2 separate regions of the Homo sapiens genome follow, and region 2 is linked to region 1. The links are contacts of gene promoters, found by promoter capture Hi-C in blood cells and fetal thymus (Javierre and others, 2016). All regions are on one chromosome and are shown on one strand. The core of a region is centred on a gene start or on the middle of the fragment in contact, and the rest is flanking DNA. Distances in the headings are between cores, read along the strand shown. Region 1 holds the start of TMT1A (thiol methyltransferase 1A). Region 2 holds the start of LIMA1 (LIM domain and actin binding 1).

Region 1 (5,020 bases), core at 1,853-4,352:
GCGGTGGCTCACACCTGTAATCCCACCACTTTGGGAGGCCAAGGTGGGTGGATCACTTGAGGCCAGAAGTTGGACACCAGCCCGGCCAACATGGTGAAACCCCATCCCTACTAAAAATATAAAAGTTAGCCAGGCGTGGTAGCATGTGCCTGTAAACCCAGCTACTCGGGAGGCTGAGGCAAGGAGAGTCACTGAACCTGGGAGGTGGAGGCTGCAGTTAGCCAAGATCATGCCACTGTACACCAGCCTGGGCGACAGAGCAAGACTCTGTTTCAAAAAAAAGGAATATTTGCATTTGCATTAAAGAGAGCCATGTCTACTAGCTGTGTAACTTTGGGCAAATTCCTTAATCTCTCTGAGTCTGTTTCTTTGTCCTAACATGAAGATATGTACTTTAGAGGACTGTTGACAGGGTTAAATGAAAATGTAATAAAGTTCCCTTGTTATATCCAGCAGAGAGTGGGTGCTTGGCAGGAGCTAAGGAAGACTATCACGAATGTGATAACTTTAAGAGTTCAATTGATTTTTGGCACTGGAAAACTGAGATAATAATTACCTGCCTTGCAGCGGTGTTGGGAGATTAGTAACACTGTAAGCAAAACATCTACTAATGTGCCAGTTGGTGCCCAGTCTTAGCATATAAGAACCCAGCATTTGGGTATAAGAATCAGTCCTTTTTTATTTACTACTCTGATATTGAGCCAAGACAGGATTGTATGATTTTCCCTAAACCCTATCTCCAAGTTCTTTTCTTCCTGAGGAACTTCCTCTATTAGAAAATAAAACTGATGGTTGGGCATGGTGGCTCACACCTGTAATCCCAACACTTTGAGAGGCCAAAGTGGGCAGACCACTTGAGCCCAGGAGTTTGAGACCAGCCTGGGCAACATGGCGAAACCTCATCTCTACAAAAATACAAAAACTAGCTGGGTGTGGTGGTGCATGCCTGTAGTCCCAGCTGCTGGGAGGGTGGGGAGGCTGAGACGGAAAGATTGCTTGAGTCCAGCAGGTCAAGGCTGCAGTGAGCTGTGATCATGCCACTGCACTCCAGCCTGGGTGACAGAGGGAAACCCTGTCTCAACAAAAAATGAAAACTGGGGATTACAAAACATGCCTTTCCCCCAGAAGAGTAAATTCAAATGTTAAGATATCCATATCTTCAACTTTGTTCAGAATATAAAACGATTTTAAACTAGCTAAAAATAATAAGGGTAATATGTGAAAACTACATACAGGTATAAAGAATTACAGACTTTACGGAAAGGTTTAAAATGAAAAGTAATTCTTTCCCTGAATCCAATCCCATTCCCCAAAGGCAACCACTGTTAATAGTTACTTGTCTGTCATTCCCATTAACTTATACACATATATGTATCTCCTCTCCCTGCCTCACACAATGGGCATGTGGTGGGCCTACGCTCTACCTAACATTCTGTGGCTTGATTGCTTTTTGTTTTCATTAAACATTATCCCTTGGGGATTTTTAAGTATCAGCACAGATAACTCTTCTTGTTCTTTCTGACAGCTGCACAGTGTTCCTTTATACAATATGACAACTCACTTACATAGCATCCTATTGATAGACATTTCAGTTATTTCCAGTTTGTGCAATTACAAATTCTACTTAATATTCTTGTGTATGGACAAGTTTTTGCATGTGGATAAAAGAGTATGTGTGGTTTAAATTTTGATATTATCAGATACCACCCAAAGAGGGTACCTCTTCTAATGTGTATGGTGGTGTCCAGTCCCCTAAACCCACCCCAACCCTATACTGACCTTAAAAGAAGTCCCTAACAGTATAATAGGTAAAATTAGTATCTCCTTTAATTAACTCTTTAAGTTTGAGCACTTTTGTCCTATAATTGGTTTACATTTCTGTTCCTGTTATTTGCCCATTTTCCCTTTTGTTTTTCTTATTGAAAAATATTGATCTTATTGACATGTAATGTCTTTTAACATGAGGGAAGTTAACCCTTTGTCTATCATCCCTGGCAAATATTTTTTCCAAGCTTGTTTTGTAGTTTAACTTTGTTTTGGGGAGTTTTTTTTTCTTATTCTTTTTTTTCTTTCTTTCTTTTTTTTTTTTTTTTTTTTTTTGAGATGGAGTTTCACTCTGTTGCCTAGGCTGGAGTGCTGTGGTGCAATCTTGGCTCACTTTAACCTCTGCCCCACCAGGTTCAAGCGATTCTCCTGCCTACAGGCACCTGCCACCATGCCTGGCTAATTTTTGTATTTTTAATAGAGATGGGGTTTCACCATATTGGTCAGTCTGGTCTCGAACTCCTGACCTCAAGCGATCTGCCTGCCTTGGCCTCCCAAAATGCTGGGATTACAGACGTGAACCACTGTGCCCGGCCAGGAGGTTTTTTCTTTATAGCAGTTTTAAGTTTTTATATTCAGATTTATCAATCTTTCTCTTTATAGCTTCTCTCCCACGCTAAAATTTTAAAAAATTCTACAGTATTTTCTAGTAGTTTACTTTTTATGTTAAAATGTTTCAGCCACCTGAAATTGACAGGCCTGCCCTCTATGATAATAGCTGCTACTAACTAGTCCTCCTCACACCCTTTCACTCACCGGTCTCAGCACTCTGCACACCTCGCGGAGAATCCGCTCCTGGTTCTTCACAGAGCACAGCACCAGGGTGCAGACCACCACATCCACAGAGCCATCAGCCACCTGGTGCATGTTCTCCCCGGCAGCTACCACAAAGCGCTCAAACTGCAGGTGTCGGTTCTCTGCAATGCTCTTGATCAAAAACTTCTCAAAGTTGGGGTTGGGGTCAATACAGGTCACCCTGCACCCAGGTGGGTAGAACTTGAAGTTGGCCCCCGTGCCACAGCCCACTTCCAGCAGGGAGAGTTTCCCGGAGGGGCCCGCAAACTCCTGCAGGTTACTGAAGAGCTCCCGCTTCTTGCTTGCCATCTGTTCGTTGTATATCACAGTGAACCTCACCAAGAAGTAGGGGAACCATTTTTTGCATATCCAGCTCCACAAGCCCAGAAAGTTCAGCAGGTACAAGGGAAATGTCAGGATGTAAATGGCCAGTCTCAGGATAAAGATGGTAAGCTCCATTGCTCAGAAGGGAAAAAAACAGATCAACAGTTAGAGACCCGACTCCTTTAATTGCAGGAGAGAGGCTTCTGGCCACACTCCAGAGCCAATCAGCTGCAGAGGAGAAAAAGAACTGGCTGTGCTGGAAAGTCAAATCATGGGCAAGAGGCCAATTTTGCCTAATAGATGTTTGGCAGCAGTCGATTCAGCTTAGTTTTCATAAGGCAAAATGAGAAGGTTCCCAGCTTTTCCTCAGAAGGAAAGTGGATTATAATCCTTTATTCCTAATCGATTCCTGTTTCCCCTTCTCTGGGTTTGGAGACAGCTGCTAGCTTCCTGCTAGAGTTTTATAAGCGCAGTGTACTTACACCCCACCGGGCTCTCCAGTGACCTCTAAAAGAAAACAGAATTCGTGGGTGGAGCCTGGTCAAACCACACCAGAAGAGTGCTGCCAAGGCCCCTTTATCATAACACATCCCCCTTACTTCCCCCGCCCAAACCCTGTTTTTTTTTTTTTTTTTTTTTTTTTTAAAAAAAAAAAAAGGAAGTGAAAGGACATGCATGCCCGGCCACAGTCAGCAAGAATTCTCTCTTTTACATTCTGGGCAGAGGCTCTCAGTGTTCACAACTCAACGTTTTTGTAAACCAAAAATAATGTTCTAAGGCCTCTAACCATCTGAATGGACTTTCTCCTTGGCCAGGGCGCTTTTAAAATTTAACTTGAGAGATTGTTTCAGGCCATGAGGGGAAGTGGGGGTCAGATATGCCTCATTATACCTCAAGCCGGCATTCACATCAACGCAGACCTTAAGTACATTTACAATCTATTCTCTCTGAAGCCTGCTACTTGGAGGCTTCATCTGCATAATAAAACTTCAGTCTCCACAACTCTTATTGCAACCCAGACATTTCCTTTCTATTGATCCCAGGTCTTTAGATAAACTCAACCAATTGTCAACCAGAAAAATTTAAAACGTACCTATAACCTGGAAGCTCCCTGCCTCGCGTCGGGTTGTCCTGCCTTTCTGGACTGAACCAATGTATTTCTTAAATGTATTTGATTGAAGCCTCATGTCTCCCTAAAATGTAGAAAACCAAGCTGTACCCTGACCACCTTGGGCACATGTTCTCAGGATTTCCCGAGGGCTGTGTCACAGGACATGGTCACTCATATTTGGCTCAGAATAAATCTCTTTAAATATTTTACAGAATTTGACTCTTTTTGTTGATATTTTAAAATCACTGTTTTGGGCTGTACTTCCCCTTTTAAAACAATTTTTGGCTCAAGGAAGTCAGTTTGTGGGCTGCCCTTCTTTTAAAGGACAAGCCTCAGTCTTCAAAATGTGCCTAACTACTCGATTACTCAGCTAATTTGGATAAAAATATTTCCCAGAATATTCACATTTGGGAGCCAAAGGGATTCAGAAAATAGTTTCAAGCATCCATCCGCTTTTTACAAGAAAGCCCGAATCTGGGCACAGTGGTGGGTGCCCATGGTCTCAGCTACTGAGGAGCTAAGACAGAAGCATACCTTGAGCCCAGGAATTCAAATCCTGTCTGGGCAACATAGTGAGACTCTATCTCTTTAAAAAAAAAAAAAAAAAAAAGAAAGAAGAAAAAGAAAAAGGCCTGAGCTTTAGGGTGGCTAGGGAACACAGAAAAAAATAATTTTTTAAAAATAGTAAACATTTACTTTAAAAAACTGGGTGATGGATACAGGGAGTGTTCTGTTGTTTCATGATTTGTTATAACCTGCATGTATTTTATAAATATTGTATCTATTCCATTTTTAACAGATTTTTTTAGGTGGAATTGACATATAATAAACTTTACATATTTAATGTGTACAGTTTGATAAGTTTTGACATATCTATATACCTGTGAACCCATCACTTCAGCCAAGATAAATGAACATATCCATCACCCCTAAAAGATTACTCTTGCTCCATTGTGATCCTCCCTT
Region 2 (5,020 bases), core at 1,629-4,128, 640 kb after region 1:
ATTCTTAAATATGTTGACATAATTTCTTTTGCAGTATGTTCTGCTATTCTTGTTGCACCGTATCATGTATGTAAACATTTGCCTGTATCTACTCCATTTTTCCCTTTCAACTCTATTGTTCCCTTCACTATCAGATAAAGGCCTATGAGTTTTTTGTTTGAGACAGGGTCTTGTTCTGTCGCCCAGGCTGGAGTGCAGTGGTGTGATCTCGGCTCATTACAATCTCCAACTCCTGGGCTCAAGGCATCCTCCCACTTCACACTCCCAGGTAACTGGGATTACAGGCACACACCACCACACCCAGCTTTTTTGTCTGTTTATTTTATTTGTTTGTAAAGACAGGGTTTTGCCATGTTGGCCAGGCTAGTCTCTAACTCCTGGCCTCAAGTGATCCCTGCCTGGGCCTCCCAAAGTGCTGGGATTACAGGTGTGAGCCACTGCACCTGGCCCATGCCCATTCTTTAAGTATTGTCTATGGCTACTTTGGCACATTTGGCACTACAGTGAGAGCTGAGTAGCTGTGACAGAGACTATAAGTCCCACAAAGCCTAAAATATTTACTATTTGGCTGTTTACACAAAAGGTTTGCTAACATATGGTCTAGAAAAATCAACAAAACAATAAATCACGCCCTGACTTGCTGCATTTGCCCATTTCCATGGTGTAAATACTCCCCTTACAGCCAATTTCGTGCTACCAATGTGACATTTCTGAATAGAGTTGGGAAGAGATGCATACAACATATGTAGTATTTCCACAGGGAATACAATGGACAAATAACCTCAAGAGCAGAATTATTAGTAAAATGAAGAAAAAAACTACAAAGTGATGAGTTTTTAATATTTATTATATTTAAAAATTTTTTTTTAGAAATAGGGTCTCACTCTGTTGCCCAGGCTGGAGTGCAGTGGTGTGATCATAGCTCACTGCAACATCAAACTTCTAGCCTCAAGCCATCTTCCCGCCTTAGCCTCCCAAAGCACTGGGATTACAAATGTGACTCAACATGCCTGGCCTATTACTTTTATTTTTAAGATAATTTAATTGTAGCTTATATAATTTGATTTCTAATAATGGTTGTGCTTATGACCTGGCTCATAAAATCCCTGAAAATTTAGCAATCAACCTAATGCTAGCTCTATCTTCAAAAGGAGGCTTTGGGAAAGCAAGTAATTTTTGTATCCACTAAAGCACAGAGCTAAAAAAAATTGGGGGGAGGGGAGACATCTATTGAGGGAACGCCACATGCAGGGTAACGTATTTTCTGGAGTACTATCCTGTATTGATATTGTATGCTCTTTAGCATTCCCATGCTGTCTGCCACTTTTGCTGGAGTCTTGATACTTGATACTGTTAATGCAAAATAAGTAGCAGGCCATTAGTTTGGAGTTGTTTTTGTACCCAGAAAGCAACCCAAAATTTAGAGGTATTCCTTGCACCTTTTGTTTGTTTTGTTTTTTTGAGATGGAGTCTCGTTCTCTCATCCAGGCTGGAGTGCAGTGGCGAGATCTCTGCTCACTGCAATCTCCACTTCCCGGGTTCAAGTCATTCTCGTGCCTCAGCCTCCCGAGTAGCTGGGATTACAGGCACTTACCACCACGTCCGGCTAATTTTTGTATTTTTAGTGGAGACGGTGCTTCGCCATGTTGGCTAGGCTGGTCTCGAACTCCTAACCTCAGGGGATCCGCCTGCCTCAGCCTCCCAAAGTGCTGGGATTACAGGTGTGAGCCACCGCGCCCGGCCCCTTGTACCTGATTTTGAATGGAGTTTCAACCAATCACAAACAGACAACCAGCCAAGTGGTTATATAATTAGGGACCTCCCATGTGACCATACCCAAATAAGGCAAACGCTTAGCTGTAGCCAATCAAATTTCTTTACTTTCGTGTTCAGCCTATAAAGTTTGATGCCTGGGCAGCTAGAGCAGGGGTGTCTGAGCCTCTTTTGGTTCTGACTGTTGTCCGATTCAAAATCTAAGTTTGTTTTGTCTGAAATTTTTATTTCTACAATACCTATCCAGAAATCAGTCTAGGCTGGATATTTGAAGGAAGAAGGGAATAACTGGCTGGCATATTCATCACCTGTTGGAAATCTCTCTTCTCACACATTTTCATTAACTTCTTGAGGAAGTGTAATTACAAGCGTTTTCCCACGAGCAGCCCCTACTAATAACGCATCAAGCTGCATGAATTCCGAAAAGCTTCAGAAAACTTGTGGTCTGAAACCCTACTATGCTTGAGGTACAGGAAAGAAGGATACTATCAAAAGGCATCATGCAGCTGGCACGGAACTGGGACAAGAATTTGGGGGCAGGATGGCCAAGTGCTAGGCCAATTGACGGTCTCCAAACCATTAGCACAGCTCCTATTCTGAATGGAGGAGTAAAAACAGCTGTTGGAGAACTTGGACGTCATCTGCCCTTGTCAAACCGTTTTCAGGATTAATGTACTTAATTCAGCTTTTTCCACTACACCACACAGCCTCCTGTAAAACACCCTCCCTGCACACAACTTACCCCCAAAGCACCAGGAACCTAGCTGGCTAGAGTTGAGCTTAGGAAAAACCTGAGTGGCTCCAGAGTCAAACTGCGATAACGTTGAGTCAGAGGAGTTAAGGACAAAGTAGAGCTGCACAGAGGCCCACGTCGTGCAAGTGCGTGTCTCCTTCAGAGAAAAGCGTGCCGAGGTAGACTAGGCCCCGGGCAGCAAAAACCCTGTCCCGTCGCCAGCGCCCCGCACCGCCAGAGCGACTGGAGCAGACGCGAGCGCTGGGCACGTAGCCGGTGGCGCGCACGCTCAGCCCGAGGCCGCACGGGAGGCTGTCTGGCGTGCGCGCCCCCGCGGCGGTGGGCGGGGTCCGGGGCGGGGCCGCAGGAGCAGTAGGTGTTAGCAGCTTGGTCGCGACAGGTGCGCTAGGTAGAGCGCCGGGACCTGTGACAGGGCTGGTAGCAGCGCAGAGGAAAGGCGGCTTTTAGCCAGGTAAGGGCCTTCTCTCTCCACAACCGGAGAGTGCGGGAAGACCCCGGCTTCTCTCCACACCCTCTTTCTCCTTCGACTTTTGGGGCGGGGGGAGTGCAAGGAGTGTGAGTCCCTCCCCCTCGAGATAAGGGGTCGAGGGACGCTGATCCTCCGTTCTTTCCTCACTTCTGGGGCCTGCGCTGGGTGGGGAGTGCTTATGTCGGGCTGAGCCTTTGCTGCCCAAGGGCGGGAGCTGCAAATACCCCGTCCTCTCCCACCGAGAACACTGCATTCTAACTGTATACTTTCTGGTGTGGTGGAGGAAGGTGACAATTCATTAAAACTCCAAATACCCTCCTTCCAGGGAAATACTGTAATATTCAACTGTTCTTTTTCCTTCATTTTCAGCCATTCCCTCTCTTTTCGATTTTTTCTCCCTTCCATTACGCCAGCTGAACTCTGTTTAAGACACTTACACCCTTTTGAGGAATGTTGAGAATATAGCAGTCCTTGCAGCCGATGTGTCATCCCCGAATCGCTATCGTGTATATATCGCTGGCACTTGCCCCCGACATATGTTGGTGTTAATGTAAGGTAATTGTACACCCCTGGCTACACATACTAAAGCTTGAAGTTGTAGCTGCTAGGAACGAACCATCTGGCACCCTTCCTAGCCTCCTTACTGATGCTTGCAAGAACGGTTTAGCTGATCCTGGTGAGAGATATTTGAACTACTATTGTCTTGCACCTAATTCCAGCTTTCAAAAGTCTGCCTTGGACGGGCGCAGTGGCTCACGCCTATAATCCCAACACTTTGGGAAACTGAGGCGGGAGGATCGCTTGAGCCCAGGTGTTTGAGACCAGCCAAGGCAACTTAGCGAGACCCTTGTCTCTACAAAAAAATAAATAAATAAATAAAAATAAAAGATAAGTCTGCCTAATCCAGATCTGCCTAATCCAGATGGTTCAATTGACTTGACTTTTCAGGTTAGTCAAAGGTAATTAGGGAGTTATCAGTTTTTAAGGCAATGCCCATTTTGGGGAGAGGTTTTCTTTTGCATTAAGTATTCTTTCTTTTGCTCTTGATTTAAATGGTTTAACACAGTACCTTTTATCTGCTTGGTTACCAATACTATTCACAAATGCTAAATATTTCAGGAGCCATGAAATAACACCAATCCTTTCTTCTGAGGTATGATGTAGACACAAAAGAACATGACCCCTAACAACATGTTCTAAGTTCCTGTAGAGGTATAACCTGGGTGCAGGATGATCACGTTTTAGATAGATCTTCAAAAAATTATAGAGTTGGCGTGAAAGAAGGCAAAAAAAAGTGTGTGTTCATATATGTTTTCTTGTTTTGCATTGATAGAACAACATATAATGTACTAGGTAATTAGTTTAGGAACTTATTTCATTCTTTGGACAAAATATTGAGTGCCTTTCATGTCAGTCCTACTGTAGATTCAAAGTGCCAAACGTCTTTACCCTAAAAGAACTTAAAATCAAATGGGTTAGACAGATCCACATACAATTTATGGTATTAGTGAGGTCATTTCTATACTAGAGGTCAGCCCAGGGTACTGTAGGAGCATAGGGAATATAGGTGTTTTGTTTTGTTTTTTAATTCTCTCTTCTGCTTTTCCTTAAAAACAAAAACCTCTGAGTAATAATGAGTGATTCTCTTCAATCTATGTATTTGTATCACTTTCATATTTCTTACCCTCTCTTCCTCCAATTCTATGGCCTATGGAAAATGGGATTAGACCCTGTTGTTAATGTGGCATTTAGTAAATAGTTGGATCTGTTTCCACTGTTCTGTATTGGGCTGGGAAGTGTTGTTATCAGGTAGTCCCTGGGAAGAGAACAGTATATTGGCAACATTAGCAAAGGAGTGCCATTTTGTAAAAATTACCTCATTGTATAACTTTCTTTAACTTGGTACACTCAAGCTTTGTTCCAGACTCTGGTTAAAGGTGGGGCTAAATTTCAACCTAATAATTCTAAAAGAAAGCTTCAGAAGCTAAAACAATTCACATCTTGGTGACAGGGGATACTTTTTC

Evidence for each region. The method cuts DNA at HindIII sites, captures the fragments that hold promoters and counts their contacts. A CHiCAGO score of 5 or more calls a contact.
Region 2: the fragment with the promoter of LIMA1 here is called in contact with the fragment with the promoter of TMT1A in region 1 in 5 of 17 cell types (erythroblasts, M2 macrophages, megakaryocytes and 2 more); the score reaches 13.0 in erythroblasts.

Annotation. Positions count from the first base shown.
Region 1 is chr12:50,923,097-50,928,116 of GRCh38, reverse strand. TMT1A (thiol methyltransferase 1A) reads right to left here and starts at 3,102. Exons shown (of 2, transcript NM_014033.4): 1 at 2,581-3,102. The coding sequence starts at 3,078. RefSeq lists enhancers at 2,222-2,765, 3,779-3,988. The HindIII fragment of the contact is 3,129 bases long and covers 2,015-5,020 here.
Region 2 is chr12:50,281,378-50,286,397 of GRCh38, reverse strand. LIMA1 (LIM domain and actin binding 1) reads left to right here and starts at 2,878. Exons shown (of 11, transcript NM_016357.5): 1 at 2,878-2,978. It overlaps LOC107984505 (a long non-coding RNA gene), which reads right to left and starts at 2,777. Exons shown (of 2, transcript XR_001749144.2): 1 at 2,516-2,777. RefSeq lists a silencer at 2,658-2,967. The HindIII fragment of the contact is 1,384 bases long and covers 2,203-3,586 here.